6 separate regions of the Homo sapiens genome follow, and regions 2, 3, 4, 5 and 6 are each linked to region 1. The links are contacts of gene promoters, found by promoter capture Hi-C in blood cells and fetal thymus (Javierre and others, 2016). All regions are on one chromosome and are shown on one strand. Each heading gives the region's core, a stretch centred on a gene start or on the middle of the fragment in contact. The rest is flanking DNA. Distances are from core to core; before and after follow the strand shown. Region 1 holds the start of BNIP2 (BCL2 interacting protein 2). Region 2 holds the start of ICE2 (interactor of little elongation complex ELL subunit 2). Region 3 overlaps ICE2 (interactor of little elongation complex ELL subunit 2). Region 4 overlaps ANXA2 (annexin A2). Region 5 has its middle 72 kb from the start of ANXA2. Region 6 holds the start of CCNB2 (cyclin B2).

Region 1 (4,069 bases), core at 1-2,500:
GTTTGCAGAAGTGGATCTGTCATACTTCCGGTCTAAGCCCAGCAGTATTAGGCTGCACTAGAGAATATGAAGACTAGGAATAGAGTTTAGAGAAAATGTAAACCAAAAAGAACTAAGAATATGTGCAAAATGATCAAGAAACTAGTCTGCAGGGGTAACTTAATTGGGTAAGGTCAGTTGTAACTTTGAGGAAACATCCATTTACAAATTACAGAATTTGTTTCTACAATTGCAGAGATTCCTATAAAATGTTAGAAAAACTACATTTAATTGAAAATACGAAATCAGGTATTAGGTGAAATAGAGATCCTAATCAAGAGAAGGTGAGAATGAAAAAAGCAACACTAAAATGCAATCACATAGTTTATTCAATTAAATAAATAGGAGGCACCGTAACTATCTTGATGCAACACCGGAAAAGCTGTTTCGTCAAAGAGCTCACAAGACACAGACAAGTAACTCTCCAGCGGCATGAAATGCATCCAGAAATCCAAACCATTTTGCCAGGTATTTAAACAGAAAGGGTTGTGTCTAGATTCACGCGGGGACTCGGCTTTTGACGTACACACTCTGTATTTGGTTTAGCGTACTAGGGAAGATCTATTAAAGCCCTGATTACTTATGCTGCTTCCGTGTCTATTCCCCGCGGTTACGAGGCATACCAGAAGTCCAAGTTTCTTTGTTCTGTACCAGGACGGACGCTGGTCATAAATACTGAACCATCGTAGCCCAGCCACTTCACCCACACCAGGGTAAAAGGGTGGGGGAGCGGAGGAGGGGCAAGGTTCCATCCCGAGCACAACTACCAGAAACGGAAAAGCGACGGGGTGGGGGGCCAAACTGCCAAATACAAACAGGACCCAAGCCAAGGGCGGGGACCTAAGCAGGGCGGGGATCCAGGAAGCACCTCCCGAGCAGGTTCTATGGCTCCCCCTACCAAGGGTAACTCTCTGGGTTTCCTCTCCCCGGACGTCGTGGGCACGCGCCCGACAGACTTTCGCCCCTAGGCCGGTTCCCAGTCCAGCTCCGGAGCCACCGTGCCGAGTTCTCCCAGGCCGCACTCACCCCGGAGGAAGCCTTGGCCCCCTCGTCCTCTTCGCCCCTCCAGGCCGGCGACGTGGGGCTGACGGCCAGGTCGCAAAAAGCAGGGCCGAGCGGAGCCCGCTCCCCTCGGTCGGCGGTGGAGACCCCGGCCCAATCCCCCGGCCGCAGCGGTACGGCGTCGGCGGCAGCAGCTGACCCGGACACAGTGAGAAGCCCCGGCGGAAGTGATAACATCCCGACCTCCTCCGGGCGCGGCAGCCGGCGGTGGAGGCGGCGGGGGCGTGGCGGCGGCGGAGGCGTGGCGTCTTCTTGAAACCCACACAGCATCCCCCCAACCCCCTCAGACGTCACGGGCTAGCGCTCGCGCCTGCACTCGCGGGGTCGGCCTTCCTTGCCTGTGGGCGGACCCGTCGCGTCGACTCCTTATTGGTGGCGTTACTACGCCTCAAGGCGTTTCTTCCCTCTTTGCTGTTCGCAGGGACGCTGCCTGGTAGTTTCAGTTACTTTTGTTTTCTTTCTGCCTGCCTTTATTGATCATTACAGTAGGTGAAATTATCGATATCAATAATAATATTGTAATACAATAGGTGCAATTATCAATATCAATATTATTACAACAGGTGCAATTATCAGTATCATTACAATAGGTGCAATTATCAGCGATCAATAATGTGAATTATAAAATGGATGAAATAAGGGGAGGAGGTCGGGCGCGGTGGTTTACGCTTGTAATCCCAGCACTTTGGGAGGGCGAGGCGGGTGGATTACCGGAGGTCAAGAGCTCGAGACCAGCCTGGCCAACATGGTGACACCTCGTCTCTACTAAACAAACAAAAATTAGCTGGGCGTGGTGGCGCGCGTCTGTAATCCCAACTACTCAGGAGGCGAGGGCGGAGGCGGAGGCGGAGTTGGAGTTTGCAGTGAGCCGAGATCGTGCCATTGCACTCCAGCTTGGGCAACAGAGCAAAAACTCCGTCTCAAATAAAAGGAAAAAGGAAAAAAAAAAAAAAAGAAAAAGAAAAAAAAGAAATAAGGCGAGGAAAAATATCCGAGGCATCATTTTGGGGAGTTAGGCCTCAGAAGCGACCTTAGAGTTTGGTAATATTTGAGTGTGAAAAGCTTTACAGCAGTGCTTCTCTTCACTGGGGGAACGGTCGGTTTATTTTTTTCAATTTTCAATTAGTTTTTGACAAGTTAATAAAACAGAAAAATGAAAAGACATACAAAGTCCAAGTCAAAACTTTTTATCGTTAGAGTTAACAGCCATAAAATTACCTGCAAAATTGACATAGAGTTTTCTACTCTCTCTCTGTGAACCATTTGCAAACAGTTCTCAGAAGAGCCCAGGTCTATAGACCATGGTTAGAGTACTCAAGGTAAACTACTCAAATTAGACCATACTCAGCTGTAGAGTTTCAACCAAATGAGATTTGTTTGGAGAACATCATAGTCTCTCTCAGTTGGGCGTGCTGGCTCATGACTGTAATCCCAGCACTTTGAGAGGCCGAGTCGGTAGATCGCCAGACCTCAGGGCAACATGGCGAGACCCCATCTCTTAAAAAAAAAAAAAAAAAAAGAGACAGAGAAAGAAAGAAAGAAAAAGAAGCAAAGAGAAAGAAAGGAAGAAAGAAAGAAAAGAAGAAAATTAGGTGGGCTTGGTGGCATGCACCTGTGGTCCCAGCCACTTGGGAGGCTGAGGTGGGAGACTCTCTGGAGCCTGGCAGGCGGCGGTTGTAGTGAGCCAAGATCGCGCCACTCCACTCCAGCCTGGGTGACAGCGAAACCCTGTCTTAAAAAAAAAAAAAAGTCCCTTTCCAAAGTTTCATCTGATAAATCCATAGAAAGGCTCAGCATCAAGTATTTGGGTGATTCCATTGGGGTACGATCAGGCCTGAGGGGAACAGAAAAGCTCAAAATTTTAAATCATTGACTAAAAATGCAGCATTCTGCCTGGATTTCACATTGCTTTGGCAACATTTACCCACCATTGGTAGATTAAAGTCCGTCTCTTTGATAAAATGGGAAGAAAATAGTACCTACCTTATAGGGTTTTTGTGAGATGAATTCATATATATGTATTAGGACCTTGGTTGTCATATTGTAATCACATTTAAGTATTAGGTATTCTTTTTATCCTAGTCTAGCAATTTCACTAAATAGCTAGTAGAGAAAACAAAACTGATCAACAGAGCTTTAGCTAAACAACTACTTGGGCCAAGAAATTTCATCTTGATTTACAGAAGTTTTTGTAGTTTCATACTTTGCTTCTTCAGTTCTGCAATGTGCAGAATTCCCCACAGGGTGGCAGAAAATCACTGGAAATCATATATAGTTATGTGATTTCTTTTTTTTAAGATCTTCAGTTCCTTCTTCATTTTAGTAACTTTATTATTTAATAAGCTTGATCAGTGTTTGCTTTGGTTTCGAGTAAGCCATCCTATTACTTATCTTTTTATCCCTATCTTGTTAATTATCCATACTTATTGTTGAAACATTACAAACTACAAGTAAGCCAAAAAGATAATTATTATTAACATATTTATGTATAGCCTTTCAGATTATATATATATATATATTCACACACATATATATTTTATGTATAAATTGCACATATAAGTCTTTATAAAAATCAGATAATGTACTTAGTGGTTTATAATCTCCATTTTCTTCTTTTCATTTAAAATATGAGCTGGGTGCAGTGGCTCACACCTGTAATCCCAGCACTTTGGGAGGCTGAGGTGGGTGGATCACCCGAGGTCAGGAGTTCGAGACCAGCCTGGCCAACGTGGAGAAACCACGTCTCTACTAAAATTACAAATATCAGCTGGGTATGGTGGTGGGCACCTGTAATCCCAGCTGCTTGGGGGTGCTGAGGTAGGAGAATCACGTGAACTCAGGAGGTGGAGGTTGCAGTGAGCCAAAATCACACCATGCACTCTAGCTTGGGCAACAGAGTGAGACTGTGTCTCAAAAATAAATAAATAAATAAAAATACAGATTCTGAGGCTTCACCCTCTACAGTCTA
Region 2 (4,069 bases), core at 890-3,389, 790 kb after region 1:
ACCTAATCAAATGGTAACTTCTGGGTGTCCTAGTGCCCAGATAGGAAATTCTAGCATATTTGCTCCATACTCTTCTCCTTTTTAAACTGTTCTTAAAGGCATTTATCCAAAAAACTATATTAAGGTATTAATGGTAAAATTAGAAAGTCTTATTTGCTATGCATCAGTATAGTTTCTTATTACCTTGTCGTGGTATTGTATCTGTGACATCTCAATAAATTCTTAAGTTTCTGCACATCATATAAAAACAAAGTAAAGGGTCTCAGGGATTGTGAGCTCCCTGGGGATGGGAGTGTTGTTAGCAATAAACAAATACTCAATGAACATACTGACTTAATAGTCTGAGTCAGGTACTATTTTAATACTCTTTGTAACCATTTATAACATTTGATCCTCCTTGGCTGGCTTAGTAAATGTGTGTTAAAATGAACTAAAGCAGCACATGTATTAGCTAGATGGCTACAAAACCACTATATTATTTAACCAGGTTCTCTATTTGCAAAGTTCTCATACACTTTTAAAATACAGTCTATGCATTTATATCATTTGATATAGATTTCAATATAACAAAAAGCATGTCTATTCTTAAAGAGGGTCTTTTTTATTACTTGTATGGAAATGGGCCAAGGTTCTTGGACTCAAGAAAATTCCAGTATCTCTCCTTCACAGGAGACCAACAATAAATACCTGAGGGAATTATACCTAAAAATAATTTGAGTGCTGAACTGTGTTGTTCCACTATAGGAGTGGAAGTACAGTCAGCCATAACTCTAGCATTCCGTATGTGAAGATGAGGATAGGGTAAATTCTGAGACCCTAAACTTGTATTTTCTGTTTCCTCCAAATCTCTCTATGCCAGAAATCTATTTTCTTATGTCAACCATCAGCCCCACTACACTCCTCTTCAGTGGATTACAAAGTGGCTACAACTCACCAATTCAGTCCTGGTTCACTTATGACCATCTTGGAGCTCATCTTCCTAGATTTCTGCTTCACTCTAGCTCACAGTTCACAGCTGCCTGGCTGCGAAGGCTCCAAGAGGCAGGATCCCTCCAGAACTTACTCAGCTGAGTAAAAACAAAAGGCCAAGATCAAAAGCAAGTGATTGGCTAGGCCAGGTGCTATTAGGTGAGGAAGAATCTCTCCCTAAACATCTACCCTCAACAGACTGTGGCACCTAAAACAGAATACAGCAGACCCAAGGTTCTTTGTAGCAGAGCAGCAATGACGATACAGGACGAGCCCTTTTCCATTTAATCTACGCCGGGAGTGTTACTCTCAGGACACTCACTATGGAAATAAGAGCTGAAACAGAACGGTGTTCTCATTGCTTACATACTAGGCCACTTGATGGCATGGAACGGGAAGTCAACTCAGTTTTCCATTCCCTTACTGCCAAAATAAATCTTTTGTTTTCCCGACCATGCTTTGTTATGGGGCAGATTCTGGCAGGCACTTTATGACAAAAGCTACCTCGATATCAGGAATCTTAGGCCTTTCACAAAGAACCTCACATTTGAGAAGACTTGAGGTCAACTTAAGTGACATTTCACAAGATCACTTACAGACATCATCAGGACTACAAATCAGGCTTGATCTCTCATGTTCAGTACTTCTCCTGTGACCCCAGGCAGACTGATAAAGTGACCTGCGAGAACCTAATCAAATTTAGGAGTCGGTCTCTCGACACCGAACGGGCCCGACCGGCTCCCACTTAATCTACCTCTCACACTTCGACCCAGTGTGGAGCTGGGGGGGAATAGTCGAGGAAGGCAAAAGAAACGGCTGAGGGAAAGGGGACGCAAAGAGAGGGGAAACAAGGTTCCAGAAAAGCAGGTAAAAGGGCAAGCAAAGCAGGGGTAGGAGCCGCGCAGAGCCAGGAGCAAAGGGTCCTGGCCCGGCCGCCATGTTCCCTCCTCCCGCCCCTGCATGAGCACGCCCGCTGGCCCGGCAGCGCCCTCCCGTCCGCGTCTGGGCTGCAACACAGCCTTTCCGCCCACCTCATGGTCCGCGGCGGCTCTTGCCCAGGCCGCAGCCACACACCACACACGCTCCACCCCACTCCTCACATTGTCGCGCGCGCCCAAAAAAGACCATATTTAAAGGATGTGGCCGCGCCGACTCGGCCCTGCGTGATGACGTCTCAGCGACATAGTGGGCGGGGCCTTGCGTCTTGACGGCTGCTCCCCTCCTTTCCTCCCGCCACAAGCGCTCGCTGTGGTTCTGGCAGCGAAGTGCGAGACTGGGCTCGCCAGGCGGAAGTGGTTGGAGACTGCGTGTTTTCCTAGAAAGTCCTCGACCTTCGTCGGGGAGAGGAGGGGAGTGATAAATTGGAAGGCGGACAAGCGACAAGTGCGGTACTGGAAAGACCCAAACATACTTGGTTGTGACCTCAGGCAAGTTTCCTGACTTCCGTAACCCAAACTCCTCATATGTAAAATGGAGATGAAATTGTTACTGCTGCATCATACGGTTTTTTGGAAAGGATTAAATGAAACAAAGGAAGAAGCTGTGCTCTGCACAGTACCTGGCACATAGTAGGGCCTCATTAAGTGCTCCTTCACCTCCGCTCCACTCCCCATCCAGTTTTAGCTGTGAGTTCAAACACTAGTTTTGTTCTCATCCATTACGGAAAGATTTATTGACCGTAAACAGAGTACTTTGTGCTTGGTGCTGGGTACACATGGACTAAGACTGAATACTGATTTTTCCAGTGCTTTGGATCTCTGGCAATCTAAGACATTTACATTAAATACAATAGAAAGTAATAAACTACATAAGAAAGGTGTATAGATTGAGGTTAGAGGGAGAGGAATAGCTAGTGTGAGGGACAAAACGCAGTTTTGAATAGTATTGAGTACTTACATGTCAGTTGCTGCACTGAGCACCTGCCGTGTGAGCTCATTTGAAGAATGTGGGTATGTGGAATGAAGAGAAAGGGCGTTCTAGACAGACCAGCACAAGTGTCAAAAGACAAAAATTTGACACATCTAAAGATCTCAGTTGGCCTTATTGCGATTCTGGAATCAGGCAACACTTCATTCCATAAAATGGAATGAGTGTCCCAATGAGTGGAACAGAGGAGGTTGGCATTACGGACAGAAAAAAGGTCTGTAGAAAGTAGAAACAAAGAACAAAAAGCAGATTGATCATTTCAAAGTTACTTTCCTGGTAAGGTGGAGACAGACAGTACAATAGAAAGATAACTGATTGGTTAACATCAGGTTACTTCAAGTTACTCTTTGCTGTAGGGACTAAAACAGAGGAAATTCATTATCTTGCTGATTGAAAATTGAAACTGGCCTGTTACCTCTGTCTCCTGATTTCTTGGAGGGCCACATAACTCAGTTTCGGTGTGGTGAGCCTGAGTGATACCATTTTTATTTTAGTCTGGTCTCTTGGGGTCTAGTGCAGAAGTTCTAAACAATGGCCTCCTATAATTTTTTTTAATACAAGGAACTGCATAAACTTATTGCATAAACAGAATCTAGTGTGTGCTATTAGGGAAGCATGTTCTACATTTTATTTTAAGACAGAGTCTCCCAGACTGGAGTGCAGTGGTGTGATCTCAGCTCACTGCAACTTCTGCCACCTGGGTTCAAGCGATTCTCCTGCGTCAGTCTCCCTAGTAGCTGGGACTACAAGTGCATGCCACCACACTTGGCTAATTTTTGTATTTTTTTTTTAGTAGAGATGGGGTTTGCCAGGGTGATCTTTAACTCTTGACCTCAAGTGATCTGCCCACCTTGGCCTCCCTAAGTGCTGGGATTACAGGTGTGAGCCACTACCCCTGGCTGACATTTTAGACTGATTTAGAATATTGTTAGAAATTATGTTAATGTAAAAAATATGCTACAGGAAACCATAGGTAGTTTATTTTGCCTGGAATGCAAGGTCTCTGAAGAGTAGTAGAGGAAAAGGGGTTGGAAAAACTGGTTGAAGCTAGAACACGTAAGATTTTATAAGCCAGACTAAGGAAGTTTGACTTTATTGCATAAGAAATAAAATGCTAGGAAACAAACAAACAAAAAAGCTTACATAATGACACAATCAGAACTGGCTGGCTGTG
Region 3 (4,069 bases), core at 1,107-3,606, 740 kb after region 1:
GGCTAACTTTTTTATTTGTAGAGATGAGGTCTGTGTTGCCCAGACTGGTCTCCAACCCCTGGACTCAAGTGATTCTCCCGCCTCGGCCTTGCGAAGTGCTGGAATTACAGGTGTGAGCCACCACGCCCGGCCCTGTCTGTAGTTTCTTAAGTCCAAATTTGCTACAGCAACATCAGTTGATTATGCCCTTTTCCAAATTCATCTGCAGGCCCGGAAAATTTAAATCAATCAGTATAGATGAGGATAAAAATAGCTTATGCTGGCCAGGCACGGTGGCTTACCCCTGTAATCCCAGCACTTTGGGAGGCCAAGGCAGGCGGATCACAAGGTCAGGAGTTTGAGACCAGCCCGGCCAACATGGTAACACCCTGTCTCTACTAAAAATACAAAAAAAAATTAGCCAAGCCTGGTGGTAGGTGCCTGTAGTCCCAGCTACTCGGGAGGATGAGGCAGGAGAATCGCTTTAATCCAGGAGGTGGATGTTGTGGTGAGCTGAGATCATGCCACTGCACTCCAGCCTGGGCAACAGAGCGAGACTCCATCTCAAAAAAAAAAAAAAGCTTATGCTTTACCACATTAACCTTGTCATCTGGAGCAATGACACTGACTTTTTTTCTGGAAAACATACCTATCTCTTTGCTTTCAGCAGTGTATTTCAACACTCAGCTTGAATCTAGAGATAGAGGCATCTGTCATCAAACATGTTATACCACCAAATTTTTTCTTTTATTAAACAAACTGATGGTTGCCAAACAAGAAGTCAGTAATCTGACTTTTCAGAGGCAGGGAGTTTTTATTTTTGGCTTCTGTAATGGAATTTCACCAAGTTTTTAAAGGTATTAACTTTATTAACCTGTAACATTCATCATTTTAAAGGAGTATATAAAAACTGTCAAAATGGGTCAGAAACAAAGTTTGCGATGCTCATAATCATCTTCAGCAGTGGCAACATTTAACTTTTTGAGTCAGTCGCAACAGACTGGCAATATAACTAACACAATACATAACGATAAGTGTTGTTCTTGATAAAAAACCAAATTATTTTTCTATTTACAATTTTTAGAAAAGGTTTAATGTAAAAATATTTTTCTTCTTTATATATTTCCCTGCCATGATAATGTTAAAACATATCAAGATCCTCCTCAAACTTCAAGGGTGAAAAGCATACCATTCCATTTTAGTTGAAATATTCCTTCACATAGCCAACACATTTTTTCAAGGCACTCTAGCTACTACAGGAAAAATGTTCCTCTTGCCTACTGATTATTTTCCCTCAAACTTATCTAAATTAAACACTGTTATAACTGTTTTTTTAAATTTAGTTTTCCATGGTACAGTCCTCAAGTTATTTTTCTTTTATGTGGAGCCACTCCTTCAGTTTCAACTTGCTGAGCAGGCAAGCAACTGCTTTTGGTTTCCATGGAAACTGGATTCCTGTGGCTGCGTGTAGGCATTCTCGTTCCACCAATCTAAGAGATGAAGCAGAGAACAGAATAGCTTAATGTATCTACAACATACCTATATACAGTCAACTCTGTAGTATTTATACATGTATTAACCACCTTGCAAATAAGCTCTTATATATTTTTCATCTCCAGCTAGCTGGCTGTTTCTAAACAAGTTTTAATCTGACACATTTTTAAGTACTAAACTTTCAAATAACCATCAGAGAAGTTGATAGATCTGAGTAGATGGGGAGCAAAGTGAATGGGGAAACTATTCTCTGTGTTAAATTTATTAGAGGTTGAAAAGATAAATTAGAAATCAAGGGAATGACAGGCCTTATGTGTGATGTGTTTGAAATAATTAAACTGAAGGACAAGAAAAAGGAAGGAGTAATAGGGAGGGAGCGAAAGGAAATACAAGAAGGTCAGAGGTGGTAAACAGGGAGAAGAAATTACATGGACAAACAAGAAAGATAATAAGAAGGGTAGGGAAGATAAGGAAAGAAAATTGAGGAAAGAGATGAAGATTAAGAAAAAGGGAAGTAAAAAAAAAACAGTAAAAGTGTAAGGAAGTTTCAAGACAAGAACCCAAGTAGCAGGGAAATCCTGAAGGGCTGAAAGAGGAGAGCAAGAAAGAAATAAGAAAAGGGGAAGAAAAAACTGGAAGGGGGAATACAGAGGATGGGGGAAGGAACTTTGCTGTGGTTCTACCTTCAAGTCTACCCTTCCTTACCCTCACTTTCTAGCTCACACAGTCAAAGAGAGGTGGTCTATTTTTTTTCTTTTGAGACAGAGTCTCGCTCTGTCACCCAGGCTGGAGGACAGTTGGCGCGATCTCTGCTCACTGCAACCTCCACCTCCTGGGTTCAAGCGATTCTCCTGACTCCAGACTCCTGAGCAGCTGGGATTACAGGTGTGTGTCACCATGCCTGGCTAACTTTTGTATTATTAGTAGAGATGGGGTTTCACCATGTTTAGGCTGGTCTGGAATTCCTGACCTCAAGTGATCTGCCCGCCTCAGCCTCCCACAGTGCTGGGATTATGGGCATGAGCCACCGCGCCCAGCCAAGGTGGTCTATTCTTAATACAGAATCCCTTGCTATGTAGTCATGTTAAAGATGTGATCTATAAAAACAGTAATGGAGAAGGCCAATCTCACAGAGAAGGACCAAAGCTGTATAGCCTGAAACTATTTCCACAGAACCTGCCCATATCTGCCTTTATTTTCCCTGGCCACCTTGTTCTCCTCTATTTCTTCATATCCCGTCCAGTCAATTTCAGGCCTGGGACTGAAGGGTGATAGTGTAACTCCAAGCACTCTCTCTCATAATGCTAGCCCAACAGAAATACTATTGGCATTTGCTCCAAGGGGTTACAGACTCACTGAAAAAGCTCGGACTCTGGCTTCCTTTATTTAATATCTACTGTCCCTTTAAAAAGCATTTTTTTTTATTTACATTTACCTGACCAGAAAGGACAAATTGAGTACAGATTTGTCTGTGTGAATCTGATGAAATTTTGTAATATACTGATTAGAAAAGTGCTGCGACTTTTGGATGATCTATACCACTCCTCACTCAGCTGGTATTTCCTATAAAGGTATATTGACCACACTAATTCTATCTGTTAAAATTTTTGAGAAAAGCAAGCATTTTGAAAACCTCCACTGCAAGACTGTGTGTGTCTGAATGTGTAAAATAAATGTTTATTACAGAAGATGTAGAAAGAAAAAAGGGATAAGTGTGAAGCTGCTGCAAGAAAGACTGGAAGCAGAAGTCAAAAGTAGCCCAGGAAGCAAATGGGACCCTTAAATACAATCTCTACTTGATGCAGTAGGGAGGCAGATGCAGGCTCTACTGGCATATCTCTCAGGGTTAGTACCAAAGGCACTATACAAGGATGAGATCAGAGTTCAAGTGGACTCGTGACTATGGGATCACATTAGAGGCAGAAACGTTTGAACAAATTTTTACACCATGAAAATATGCAGATGATTTCTATTTCATATAGGTCTTACTTCCCTGGTTTCCTGAAAGCTGTCATCTTACCATTGCTGCTAAAACTAGAATCCATATTTGCACTTAGATTGGTTGGGACTAGAAGGCCCAATCCCATGGCCTAGCTAGGAGGTAGGGAAGAAGATGGGGTAATTCCTATCAAACACAGGGCTAGATTGTGGGGAGGTGAGTAGATCACCAAAAACTTTCCACTGGCTTTCAAAAATATATCAAACCAACTATTAGTTATCTAATTGTCCACTGTACCTAATGCTGGGCTCTACAACAACCTGGGCCTGGATAATCTCGTTAAGTATTTGTTCCTGGACTGAATGCATGAAGCACACTCCGTGATACACATGTAATTGAACTGTTGTAATTATGTGGCCAAATTGTGAACATATGGAATTTCTCCTTTTCCAAATACAGTCACATTTTGGTCAAAATGAACTACATATACAACAGTGGTCCCAAAAGATTATAATGGAGCTGAAAAATTTCTATCATCTAGTGATGTCACAGCTGTTACAACATAACAGTGCAATGTATTACCTTGTCTACGTTTAGATATCCAAATACCAGTGTATTACAACGGCATACAGTATTCAGTACAGCAACATGCTGTAC
Region 4 (4,069 bases), core at 936-3,435, 670 kb after region 1:
TGGCCTCCCGATATACTGTAAAAGACGTGGGGGCAGCCATTCCAGCGGCAGCTCCTCAAAGTCACCAGAAGGAACCAGAGGCCGCAACACAGTTGGAAGTGAGGTCATGAAACTTTCCTATGCAAAACACTTCATCTAATACTGAGAAAATATCTCCTTGTCCACACCAAACTCGGACGGTGTTTAATGGAAGTGATAGGAAACTAACACCCCCGAACTGGCCCCCTTGAATTCCCTGCTGCATGTAATTTCTTAAGGGTTGGATCCACTGTCACCATGAACACAAAAATTTGTCAGAGGTCTGGTCAGCACCCATGTATGTAGACAGACACCCCAACTCAATGTGTCTTTTAGCGATGCTTCCTCGAGCTAAACTTCCTACAAATCATGGCTGATGACTGAAGCCTCCTACTGAAATAATGTTCTTCTTTTCGCTTTTTTTTTTTTCTTCTCTCTCTTCTTTCTTTCCTTGCTTTCTAAGAGCACCTGTGGCATCTACAAAGCTTAGCCCCTACAGGTACTTGCAGGCTACGAGAGGTGATTTGCAGCATGCTTCAGAGACAACCATGCTGAATCATTCGTAGATGTCAAAAGTGTTAGAACTGACATGGATCTTAGAAGCCACCTGGCTTTCACCACCCATTTTCTCCTGCTTCCCAATGTCCCGGGAACACACGGCACTTAGGAGGGGACTGTAAAAGCAGTAGCTCCCAATTATAACACCAGTCTCCCAGTTTGGAACTTTGAGGTTAGGTAACTCCAAACTTAGCCTACCCTTGACACTCCCCTCTACCCATTCTCTATTCAAACCTCAAATAGCATTTGGGCACCTACTGACTTCTTCCACTTCTATTCTAAACTCCTTATGGGCGTTCAACTTCCTGTTTCTCACAATGTCCAGCACAGAGCTTTGCATTTAACAAAAACTAAACAAAAACTCCAGAAATGTATGATAAATCAAACATAACCCTTCCCTGTAAGGAGAAGCCTCGCATCTGGCGTCTGCTAGAACATGAAAGAGTCGTAAAAGCAGCTGTCTCTCCCAGCTCCTCTCCACTCTGCCAGCCGGGCCTAGGTTCTTCAAGCTCATCACCTGGGCAGCTGCAGCCCGTATCCCTAAAGAACTCTGCAGCACAAATCTTCCTTATTTCACAAATTTTCTTCTTTATTTCACAAACAGCCGATTGTTTCACTTGAAACTATCTCAAGTAGTTTACATATCTTTTATAAAAGATACATAATTCTCCTTGGCCTAAGGCTGAGAGTCAAGAATTAGTAGGATGATGAGCTGTCCCCAGCACACAGCAAAGCCTGTGAGATCTTGGGACCTCATCATAATTCTGGTAATATCTTCCCTCCTAGAGGGTATGTGGGAGCTTTGTTCTACATATATCTAATCTAAAACCAAGATCTAGGTTTTGGGTGTGGTGGCTTATGACTGTAATCCCAGCAGTTTGGGAGGCTGAGATGAATCATTTGAGTCCACATGGCAGAAGTTGCAGTAAGCCGAATCACACCACTGCAATCAAGCCTGGGTGACAGAGCAAGACCCTGTCACAAAAAAAAAAAAAAAAAAAAAAAAAAAAAGTTTCAGGCTTCTATGTGTGTGTGTACACACCCAAATGTATTCCAAGACCATACTCTGTGACAGCTGAAAGATCAAATTTTTTGCTTGCTATCCAGAGATGAGCCTTCTGCTCCACTGGGAACTTGGCTCTACCAGCTCACAGACCCCTTTGGGAAGCTGCAGAAATAAAACACTCCCCTCTATGCCTCACTACACAAGATTAATACACTTCTAGTGAAAGAAGAATTTTAATGCACTTGAGATGAAAGAAGCCAGATGCTTTCCTATTTATGTCCTTTCCAACCATTTAGAGTGCGGGGGATGGAAGTGTAGCAAGGCTTGACCTGCAACTCCCAGGACCCTGCTGGTCATGTCAATCCCAAGGGCAGAAATATCTCTTCTAGAATCCTTCCAGCTCACCTCCACTGTGGCTACAAGTGAAAGCCATAAGTCAAACGGGAGCTGCAGGAAGCCACACTTACTGCACTGTCCAAGAATAAATCAAAAGCTTTTAATAGCAAGAAGTTAAAAATAAAGCAGCACGTCCTTAAAAATAAAATTTCCTACAACTGACAAAATAAAGGACGAACACGCACTGGTTGTTTCTTAACCACTAGTGGACAAGCAAAGGGAAAAAGCACACAAAGACCCTTTAAATAGTAGGAGCATGGCATGTTGAAGATAGCTTTGCAGACCAAATGAACTAACAACTAAGCCCACTCGTTGCAAAAAGCTTAAGAATTCAAGTGTATATTTTTAAAATGAGAGGAGCTTGTTAGGATCAACACTCAGTGGAGGCTAGTATCCTAAAATTAAATTAGAAACATCTTATCAAGAACCAGCAGAAGTCATAAAGATGAAATGAGTTGCTACATGTACAAAACTGAGCACAGTGCCTGGCCCAAAGTAAGCACTCAATAAATGGTGCCTGTTGTTGTTATTGTTGTTGTTCCCTATTCCTAACTTTCTATTCCCAGAAGCTCTCCCTCCAGGTAGCCTGGGTTGGGGGAGGGTACTGTCCTTACACAGGAGCTCCCAAGCACTCTAAAGCGAGCGTGACCATCTGCGCTCTGCCTCCTCTCAGATCAACGGTGGCATGAGATTCTCACAGAAGCGCGAACCCTACTGTGAACTGCACACGCGAGGGATCTATGTTGTACACTCCTTATGAGAACCTAATGCCTGATGACCTGAGGTGCACGCGCGCGTGCACACACGCACACACACATGTGCAGTGACTCTTACAAGGATTTAAGAAGAAAATCTTAGATATCCAAGGGTCCCACAAGTCTTTTGCGCATGAGAGCCACAATTCATGAAAAGAAAAAGCAATGTCTGAGGAAACAAAAATTCAACAAGAAATGCCCTCCATCCCTGGAATTGCCTGTACCTTTTTGGTCCTTCTCTGGTAGGCGAAGGCAATATCCTGTCTCTGTGCATTGCTGCGGTTGGTCAAAATGTTGACAATGGTGACCTCATCCACACCTATGGAAATACAAGTTGTTAATCGTTACTCAGTATACTCTAGTATTTTGGGCTTACATAGAAGGTGTCAAGCAGACTTTTTCAAACTGAAATTTATATACTGTTTTCCAAACTGAAATACCCAGACACCAAGATTTGTTCTATCTCTTTCGTCAGCATCCTCTACCCAATGTGTACACTCTCTTTCCTTTTTTCTTGAGAGCCTCAAACCTCAAGCTTAAATGGACCTTTTAAATACTTGTGGTTTAAAAACTATTTTATTCATAAATTGGTTTCTGGAATCAACAGTAGGAGGTGCATATGTGGGGCTTTGGCAGTCAGATGGAACAACAGAGATTTAGTAGGATTTTAAATGAAGGTCCCCAAATTGCCATTTAACTCGGGATTTAATAGAGAGTAACTGCAAACTGAATTAATAGAGATAATTATTTATACTTATTGCAGGATTATGGCTATATAAGCAGCTAGGTATAATTTCTATAATTATAAAAACTGTCATGACAAATGAGTCAGATTTAACACGGCAGTTGTATTTTTAATAGCATAATTGATTAACACAATCACACTTATTGAAGACAAAATTGTTTTGTAAGGAAAATAAACGTTCCACTGCCTTTAATCTTCAATAGGCAATTTTAATAATTAATTTTATAACTTTATTAAAAAGAGTAAGTGTTTTAATCTAAATTAAATCTAAATTGGGAGTTTTGAGGTGCCACCAAAATATTTTAGTACCTATTTTAATTGGAACATGTGTATTTACAAAGATAAGCAATGCCTTCTGGTGTCTGCAAGTTTCCAATTTCATATCAGAAATACTCCTAACATGCCATTTAACTTAAGAAAGCACAGTTTGTAAATTCAGAATGTGAAAAGTCTCTCTCCTGACTGATTAATAACTTTGTTTAATGAAAGAAACAGTCTTTGCCATAACTGGATAGGTAACTCTTGGGTGAGAGAGTAGAGTTGCTAAACCTACAAAGTCACTTGCAAACTACAAATGGCTTGGCCTGAAGA
Region 5 (4,069 bases), core at 843-3,342, 640 kb after region 1:
ACATGTGTTATTCACCCTGATAGAAGAAAAACTGTAAATGCGCTCTAGTTCAGTTAGGGTATCAGATAAGACCGTGAGTGGCTGTTGGGTTCAATTCTCTATTTTTGCAAAACTGGGCTGGAATTATTTACTTTTAGTAACAATGCATTCGCCCCACCTTCAAACATTTTTCTCCTCCTTCTTTCCTTTTACTGGAAGAGAGTTTCATTTGTTCACAAAACTCTTTTTCTCACTTTAATTTCCTTTAAATTCAGTCCGTTTTGACTCCTAAGGAAACTTTCATTTTTAAAAAAGGACCAAACTCCTTTGTTTTTCTCTTAGATGGATGATGCCCTGCCCTGCTCTCCAGCAGCCCCCACAAAGTTAGGAGGTTTTGTTTCTTAAATTAGGCCAGAACTAGTCATTCTGATGAACTCCAACTCCAATCAAGGACATTGGCCAATCTGTCAGAACCTAAAATAAAAATAAATCCACTAGCAGTGTCTTCCACTTTGAATGTTTATCCTGCTGGGTGCCCCTCTTTCTTTCTGCAATGGAAGAACCCGCTTCCATTTTGCAAGTCTGTGTGTGCCCCCTCGTTTGGAGCCATTTGCAATCTCTTGCACTCCCGTTTCAAGGTGGAGCCCCAGCCAAGATGAGTTTCTCTGAAGAGCTGCTACCCTAATTCCTCCCGTTCACTTCGAAGCTTGTCAGGGGGACCCAAGCAATAAGAAGGTCAATAGGAAAACAAATCCCACCTTATTAAGTCTTGTTTGATCTTAAAACCACATCATCCGAGATTTCAGCGACATTATGCTGGCTCCGCACAAGAGGAACAGAGTTTTCTTATGAAAATAAATTAGACAAGCACACAGAAGAAAAAGAAAATGATGTGCAACGGTTAAAATGTTTGAGAGCCTTACATGTGGCCAGCGAGCTCAGCAAAGGACACTGGTTTCTTTTTCTCTCTTCTTTAGTCTTTTATTCCCTACTCTCTGTTCTCCTTGCAGCAAAACAAATATTTTTCCTACCACAAATATTTTTAAGGTGCTACTTTTCAATTAACGATGTTTTATTTCTTTTGTGTGATGGGGTTTTTCTTTTTCGCACTGAAATGATAAAGACACTGAAGATGGCAAAGGGAAGCCCTAGGAACAGCCTTGCTACAATCCATCAGCTGCGATAATATCAAGATGAATATATTGTCAGGAATCTGTATGTAGCATTTCATTTATCCTACCCACTCTGCTAAGAGCGGCTCCCCCGGGGATTACATTATTATTCAAGCTTCCTGGACTCACTCCAAATGCATATTGCAACTACAATTCAAAGGGAAACTTATAAAAGGTGATAGGAAATAGACCTTCTACAGAACATTTTTTAAAAATTAACCTTTTCAGAGTTTAATTCCATCCTATATACCTATAAATAGACCAGCTTTCAGGAACTAAAAACTAATCCTATAGTAATAACACAAAGCTCAATTTCTCATTCCATACGATCATTAATATTACTTTAAAAATCACGAGAAATCTCTTCAACTTCTTAAGCATTGTAATTCATTTCTGTACACCAATTCAAGAAACCTCATTAGTTTAGGTGGCCTTTTTGCAATACCATCCAAGGCACGCAAATATTTGGAATTTTTACCTTAGGTCAGAGTTTAAGAAAAAAATGATTTCTCATTTCCAGAAAGGATTTATGAATGTAGAAAAATGCTTTTGTGACAGTGACATGTTTGTGTTACCTAATTCACAAATAAAATAAGCTATATAGAATATATGAAGTAAAAATCAAAAGGAAAAAAGAGAAAGGATTTTATATAAATGGTGGATAATTTTTAAGTAAAAAAAAATCTTGTTACATCCTTAACATTTTTAAATCTTGTTACATCCTTAACATTTTTTTCTATAACCCAGTTTCAATACTCCAATCAAATGTAAGATGGAAGAGCTTTGATTTGAGAGAAAAAAAATCCTTTGAACATTGATCGACATGTGATTTGTGCAATTATTTAACCTGGATTTAACTCCCTCTACTCTATGCTCAAATCACTTGATTGACTGAGATGCTGTTTCCATTGAGCTGGGTTTACAATTATCTTTAAACAAGCGAAACTTCAAAGGCTGCTCAATGGGTATTTTCCGTTCTTCATGAGAACTCGTAAATGTATAACCTGCATATAAACAAGTCACTCTACCTAATTAAATGGAATCTCTTCCTCTCTATTAAAAATTTAGAAGTGCTGCCTGGGTATAAACATGTCATCTCAGAAGGTGGGAGGAGAGACCCTCTTAACGTCCGTGAACAACCAGCTGAATCTCCTTTAAGCAAAGCCACGTTAATAATAGCACAGACACATAAATTATTCTAATTATTTTATTATCAGTAAAGATTGGTTAAACGGAAAGGGTGTTCATTGTTGGCAATTATGCCCTCAAGTTTTATCTGACTACTAGGGAAATGCAGTCCAGGGCTTTAATTTACTTCAGAGACCGTCACATAGCTTCTTGCCCACTTTCTTTTTCAAACATCTGTATCCTAGAAGAGGTAACAGGTAATGGAGCATTTTCGCTGATGGCTGCGTCTAGACTGGAAAATGTTTTTTTGTTTGTGTTTGTTTGTTTGTTTTTGTTTTCTTTAATCACATTTCTAGACTTAGAACTCTTAGGAAAATGATCCATAAAAGGTCTAGTTTGGAAATTGAAATGTTCTTAAAGCGTTTTGAGTTTGTGTTGTTTCGTTTGATTGTTAAAGGAAGAAAAGGTTCTTAAAGTCCTTGTCCCTTTTTTGAAAACTGATGGAGAAATTATAAAGCACCTCCAGCTAATGAAAATAGTTTACCTTGAGCTCAGGATTCACTGCTATAGCTCCCAATCTTCTTTTTTTAAAAAAAAGAAAAACTCTTTTCATAAAGTTTGAAACAATATTTGTGGCATTAAGCTTTATATCATAAGACCAGGCAGAAATTGCAGCATGTAAATGTTTGAAAAGGAGACGTAGACTTTTGAGCTGTGAGGTGCTTTGTTGGAGCGTCCTCTTGTGGTCAAATGTCATCAATACAACTTTAGAGTCACTTTTTTTTAAAGGGCGGTTTTGACAAACCCACAGTAGCGCAATGTTGACACAAGTTGCAATTCAGGATTGAAAGTTTGGTATCTTGTTAGATTTTGTATCCTCTCCTATTCTCCAGAAACACCTTAAAATGCATTCACTCAAGCAAACAGGAATTCATGAGAGCTCTTAAATATACAAGAACTCTTAAAATACACAAAAATTATGCACAAATGCAAGGCAATGCTCCTTACTGATCTGGGAACAGAGAAAGTCTACCTCATGAGGTGGCATCTCTCCCCAGGTGTCCTTCAACTGGCCATGGGAGGGACAGTTTTTTCCCATCAGCACCACTGTCAGAGGCCAATAGCATGAGATGTAGTGGCTGCAGGCTGGGTGGATCATGTCACCCATCACTGCCCCTGTGACGTTGAGTGCACCCATCTGCAAGGAGAAGGTATATCCCCAGTGGAGCAAGGCTCCCAGAGGCCTCAGTTCTTAGATGGAAGTGAGTATGGCTTTTCTCTGATACCTGTTCCAATAGGGAATTCAAAGTGAGGGGGAAATATTAAAGGGAGTTATTATATTCAAGTATTTCCATAATTTGTTAACTGTAAAATATATATCATTTTTATGGCTTCAAAATAATCTACTTAGAAGCCTCACTAAAGATAAGGATCTTTGTGAAAATTCCTGCCTTTGACCAGAAATCTGGGTTAAAACAGATTGAGAAATGAGAGCTTCTCTTTGATACCTCACATTTTTAGGTCTTGAAGGGACTCTGGGCATTATAGATTTCAAACTTCTCATTTTACAGATTAGAAAGAAAACAAAGAGGCTGGGCACAGTGGCTTATGCCTGTAATCCCAGCACTTTGGGAGGTCAAGGTGAGCAGATCACTTGAGGCCAGGAGTTCAAGACCAGCCCGGCCAACATGGTGAAATCCCGACTCTACTAAAAATACAAAAATTAGCTGGGTTTGGTGGCAGGGGCCTGCAATCCCAGCTACTCAGGAGGCTGAGGCAGGAGAGTTGCT
Region 6 (4,069 bases), core at 1,177-3,676, 580 kb before region 1:
TAATAGAGACTGGTTTTTACCATGTTGGCTAGGCTGATCTTGAACTCCTGACCTCAAGTGATCCACCTGCCTCAGCATCCCAAAGTGCTGGGATTACAGGTGTGAGCCACCATGCCAGGCCTTCAGATTCTTAATGGAACCTGATATCATGGGTGTTAGATCACTCCTTTCCTCTTTTCCTTCTCTTTTCCCATTAATCTCACTTTTTCCTTTCCTGTTTCTTTTTCTGTCTTGATCTTCACCTGCTTCTTTTTACAAGGGCAACATTAATACTGTTCTCTTTGGACTGTGCTAATCCTCCCACTCTTCTGCTCAAGACTGGTGTCACACCTTGTTTTTCATTCTTAAATCTTACATACATCATAAGATCATTTATTAGATGAATATTTTTTAATTAATACACTTAAATTTTATTTCAGTAGCTTTTGGGATATAAGTGGCTTTCTGTGATGTGGGTGAATTATATAGTGGTGAATTCTGAGATTTTAGTGTGCCCATCACCTAGGTAGTGTATATTTTATCTAATATGTAGGTTTCTATCCCTGTCTCCCCTTCCACCCTCCCTCTTCTGAGTCTCTAAATTCCATTATATCACTGTGTTTGCCTTTGTATATTCACAGCTTAGCTCCCACTTACAAGTGAAAACATACGGTTTTTGGTTTTCCACTCCTGAGTTACTTCACTTAGAATAATGGCCTCTAGCTCCATCCAGGTTGCTGCAAAAGACATTATTTTGTTCCTTTTTATTGCTGAGTAGTATTCCATGGTGTATATATACCACATTTTCTGTACCCACTCGGTCGATGGGCACTTAGGTTGGCAATTGTGAATTGTGCTGCTGTAAACATACATGTGCAAGTGTCTTCTTCATATAATGACTTCTTTTCCTTTGGGTAGATACCCAGTAGTGGAATTGCTGGACCAAATGGTAGAACTACTTTTTGTTCTTTAAGGAATCACCATACTTTTTTCCATAGAAGTTGTACATTCCTACCAGCAGTGTTTAAGCATTCCCTTTTCCCCACATCCACGCCTACACTGTTTTTTGACTATTGTTTTTTGAGGTTTTTTTTCTTTTTTAGACAGGGTTTCAATGTGTTGCCCAGGCTGGAGTACTGTGGCACAATCATGGCTCACTGCAGCCTCAGACTCATGGGATCAAGGGATCCTCCTGCCCCAACACACGGCCCCCCGCCCCCCGCCCCCCGCCCCCCTCCCAGTACCTGGGACTACAGGTGCTCACCACTACACCCGGCTAATATTTGTATTTTTGTAGAGACGGGGTTTTGCCATGTTGCCCAGGCTGGTCTTGAACACCTGGGCTCAAATGATCTGCCCAACAGGCCTCCCAAAGTGCTGGGATTACAGGTGTGAGCCACTGCGCCCGGCCTTTTTTTCTGACTTTTTAATGATGGCCATTCTTGCAGGAGTAAGGTGGTATCTCCTTGTGGTATTAACTTGCATTTCTTCGATGATCAGTGATGTTGAGCATTTTTTCATGTATTTGTTGGCCATTTGAATATCTTTTGAGAAATATCTATTCATGTCCTTTGCCCATTTTTTGATGGCATTATTTTCTTTCTTGCTGATTTGAGTTCCTTCTAGATTCTGGACACTAGGCCTTTTTCCGATGCATAGTTTGCAAATATTTTCTCTTAATCTGTGGTTGTCTATTATTTCTTTTGATGTGCAGAAGCTTTTTAGTTTAATTAGGTCCCATTTATGTATTTTTGTTTTTGTTGCATTTGCTTTTGGGGTCTTAGACATGAATTCTTTGCTTGGGCTGATTATTAGACGAACATTTATTGAGCACCAACCATATACGACAAACGATGTACTAGGTGTTGGGAATACAATGGAGAACTTACATGAATCACCAGTCACACAAATCTCTTTTATCTTTTTTTTTTTTTTTTTGCCTTACTTGAGAATTTGGGTTTTTGAGTAAACGCCATTATTCTCTCTTTTTTTAAGCACACTTTTGCATCTCAACCACCTAACACACTGCATCCCTGAGCAACCCGGAGGGGCCGGTTCCTGCACCCAGGCCAACACAACTTAAACCCCAACACACCAGAAGAGGAATAAAGGCCAACCAACTTCCGCCCACCCACTACAAACGTCGAGAGAAATTCGTAGATGAGGCCTTGTCAAAATTCAGAGGCGTCCTACGTCTGCTTTCCCAATGAGACAGTTCCTTTTTGTTTGTCTCAGAGACTGGGGTTTTTTTTTTTTTAAAAGACTGTAGGCAGAAAAAACACCCCAACCGGCTGTTGTGACAATCAAACGTGTCTAAGAAAATTCAGCCAATGAGAGTGCGAGAGTGCATCTTGTGTTGGCCAATGAGAACAGCGACCCGTGCGCAGGGCCGCCCAATGGGGCGCAAGCGACGCGGTATTTGAATCCTGGAACAAGGCTACAGCGTCGAAGATCCCCAGCGCTGCGGGCTCGGAGAGCAGTCCTAACGGCGCCTCGTACGCTAGTGTCCTCCCTTTTCAGTCCGCGTCCCTCCCTGGGCCGGGCTGGCACTCTTGCCTTCCCCGTCCCTCATGGCGCTGCTCCGACGCCCGACGGTGAGTGTGCCCGGGGACCGCTCTCAGAGGCGAGTCCGTCGGCCCCACAGCTCCCCTGTCGCTTCTCTCATCTGCTCCGAGCTTCTCCGTCCCAACCGGGGCTGCTTTTCTCTTCTCCGGAGCTCACTGCTTCGCCCGCGTCCCTGGCCCTGCGGCCGGTCCTCTCCGGCCCGCCTTTCCCCGTCTGGATTCCGCCCTCCCCTAACCCCTCCCTGCCCCGGGGTGGGAGAAGTGTAGGAAAGCGCTTCCGAGATGGCGCCTGTCAAGTGAGCCCCCAGAGCACTAGGCCTAGTACTCAGCGAGCGATCCCCGAGTGCTCTTCATTGCTAGAGAGTTATCTACTTCCACGTTCCTGGGATTTCCCTCCCCCTTTCTTACAACTCCTTGCCAACTAAGGGACCTGTGATGGCGGCTGGGAGGAGGACTGGAAGGGTTCTGTAGGCAGTAAAGTGTACGGCGTGTTTCATCAGGCAACTGCCAGGCTGTTTTTCAGATTGTTCACATTTCTTTTTGTATGAGTTTCCCATTTATTTCGGCACGCTAAGTCTTCCATGCTACGTTCACTAATAAATGGGTTTGTCCCCTTAAAAAATTAATTTCTTTACTCAAATGTAACAGAGGTTTTTGAATATAATTTGGACCAATGTGGCAGACTGAGAGAAAAGGGTCCAAATTCATTTATTTCATCCTTGCAGAGATCAAAGTGTTATGGTGTTTTGGGTATTTTTCCTGTGGGCTTGAATTGTACCGGGACCTACTTTTTTCCTTTGCCGAAAGCTAGAGGGCCCTGACACACCTGAGTTCCATCATCTTGGCTATAAGGTTAGATAAAAGCTGCCAATTTTCCTATCCAGATGAATTTAAATTGAGTCACATTACCAGGCTTCTACCCATAAGCATTACATTTTCAAACACTTTTTCAGATTGGCAGTTGCTGCTGGAAGAAATTGAAGTGTGACTTTTGAGAATCCTAATAGATTGAATACATTTAGCATTTAATTAATATCCTTTTGTGGATCTAAGTCCAACTGACAAGTAATTTTTTATAATAATGTATTCTATAACGTTATTTAATAGTCAAAACCTTTCTGTTCAGGGAAGGCTTGAGTTTCCCTGGCCCCTCTCTCTGCCTGGTAGATCCACTCAAACCCCTTGTTGGGAGTTTTATTAGAGTCGGGACCCTGAACTCTCAGGGATAGGACATGCTGGTTTTTTGCTTTTTTCTTTTTTAATGAAATGTTTATCACTTCTATAATAAACTTTTTTTGGTATGAGTTGCTTTTCCTAGCAAGTTTTATTTCCAAGCACATTATGTCTAAAGCAGGTTAAGGTCAACTGACAATTTTTATTTCATACAATTCCAACCTTCCCTGAGTTTGGGAGCTAAAACTATATTACTCAAGAAAACTACTTCCATTCTAAATGTCCTTAATATAAGAGAAAATCCATTCTATGGCAACCTCATTTTAAAAAGCTGTAGTTCTAAAAGATCATGC

The links. The method cuts DNA at HindIII sites, captures the fragments that hold promoters and counts their contacts. A CHiCAGO score of 5 or more calls a contact.
Region 2: a contact is called between the fragment with the promoter of ICE2 here and the fragment with the promoter of BNIP2 in region 1, in 4 of 17 cell types (M2 macrophages, erythroblasts, M1 macrophages and 1 more). The highest score is 8.2, in M2 macrophages.
Region 3: a fragment that was not itself captured here is called in contact with the fragment with the promoter of BNIP2 in region 1 in 1 of 17 cell types (M2 macrophages); the score reaches 5.3 in M2 macrophages.
Region 4: a contact is called between a fragment that was not itself captured here and the fragment with the promoter of BNIP2 in region 1, in 1 of 17 cell types (M2 macrophages). The highest score is 5.5, in M2 macrophages.
Region 5: a contact is called between a fragment that was not itself captured here and the fragment with the promoter of BNIP2 in region 1, in 1 of 17 cell types (endothelial precursors). The highest score is 5.2, in endothelial precursors.
Region 6: a contact is called between the fragment with the promoter of CCNB2 here and the fragment with the promoter of BNIP2 in region 1, in 1 of 17 cell types (monocytes). The highest score is 5.7, in monocytes.

What each region holds. Positions count from the first base shown.
Region 1 is chr15:59,688,070-59,692,138 of GRCh38, forward strand. BNIP2 (BCL2 interacting protein 2) reads right to left here and starts at 1,251. Exons shown (of 10, transcript NM_004330.4): 1 at 1,066-1,251. RefSeq lists an enhancer at 957-1,605 and a silencer at 1,019-1,528. The HindIII fragment of the contact is 5,510 bases long and covers 1-2,161 here.
Region 2 is chr15:60,477,003-60,481,071 of GRCh38, forward strand. It overlaps ICE2 (interactor of little elongation complex ELL subunit 2), which reads right to left and starts at 2,140. Exons shown (of 16, transcript NM_024611.6): 1 at 2,001-2,140; 2 at 935-1,067. The coding sequence starts at 975. RORA-AS1 (RORA antisense RNA 1) reads left to right here and starts at 2,176. Exons shown (of 6, transcript NR_120342.1): 1 at 2,176-2,396. RefSeq lists enhancers at 972-1,091, 1,414-1,941. The HindIII fragment of the contact is 13,398 bases long and covers 1-4,031 here.
Region 3 is chr15:60,422,294-60,426,362 of GRCh38, forward strand. It overlaps ICE2 (interactor of little elongation complex ELL subunit 2), which reads right to left. Exons shown (of 16, transcript NM_024611.6): 16 at 1-1,469. The coding sequence ends at 1,341. Among named protein-coding and RNA genes, the nearest start is that of ANXA2, 26 kb to the left of the region's middle. The HindIII fragment of the contact is 3,596 bases long and covers 559-4,069 here.
Region 4 is chr15:60,361,472-60,365,540 of GRCh38, forward strand. ANXA2 (annexin A2) reads right to left here. Exons shown (of 13, transcript NM_004039.3): 4 at 2,958-3,052. Among named protein-coding and RNA genes, the nearest start is that of ANXA2, 34 kb to the right of the region's middle. The HindIII fragment of the contact is 225 bases long and covers 2,074-2,298 here.
Region 5 is chr15:60,323,998-60,328,066 of GRCh38, forward strand. No RefSeq gene overlaps it. Among named protein-coding and RNA genes, the nearest start is that of ANXA2, 72 kb to the right of the region's middle. The HindIII fragment of the contact is 1,656 bases long and covers 1,265-2,920 here.
Region 6 is chr15:59,102,720-59,106,788 of GRCh38, forward strand. CCNB2 (cyclin B2) reads left to right here and starts at 2,427. Exons shown (of 9, transcript NM_004701.4): 1 at 2,427-2,573. The coding sequence starts at 2,550. RefSeq lists an enhancer at 1,950-2,239. The HindIII fragment of the contact is 2,621 bases long and covers 1,695-4,069 here.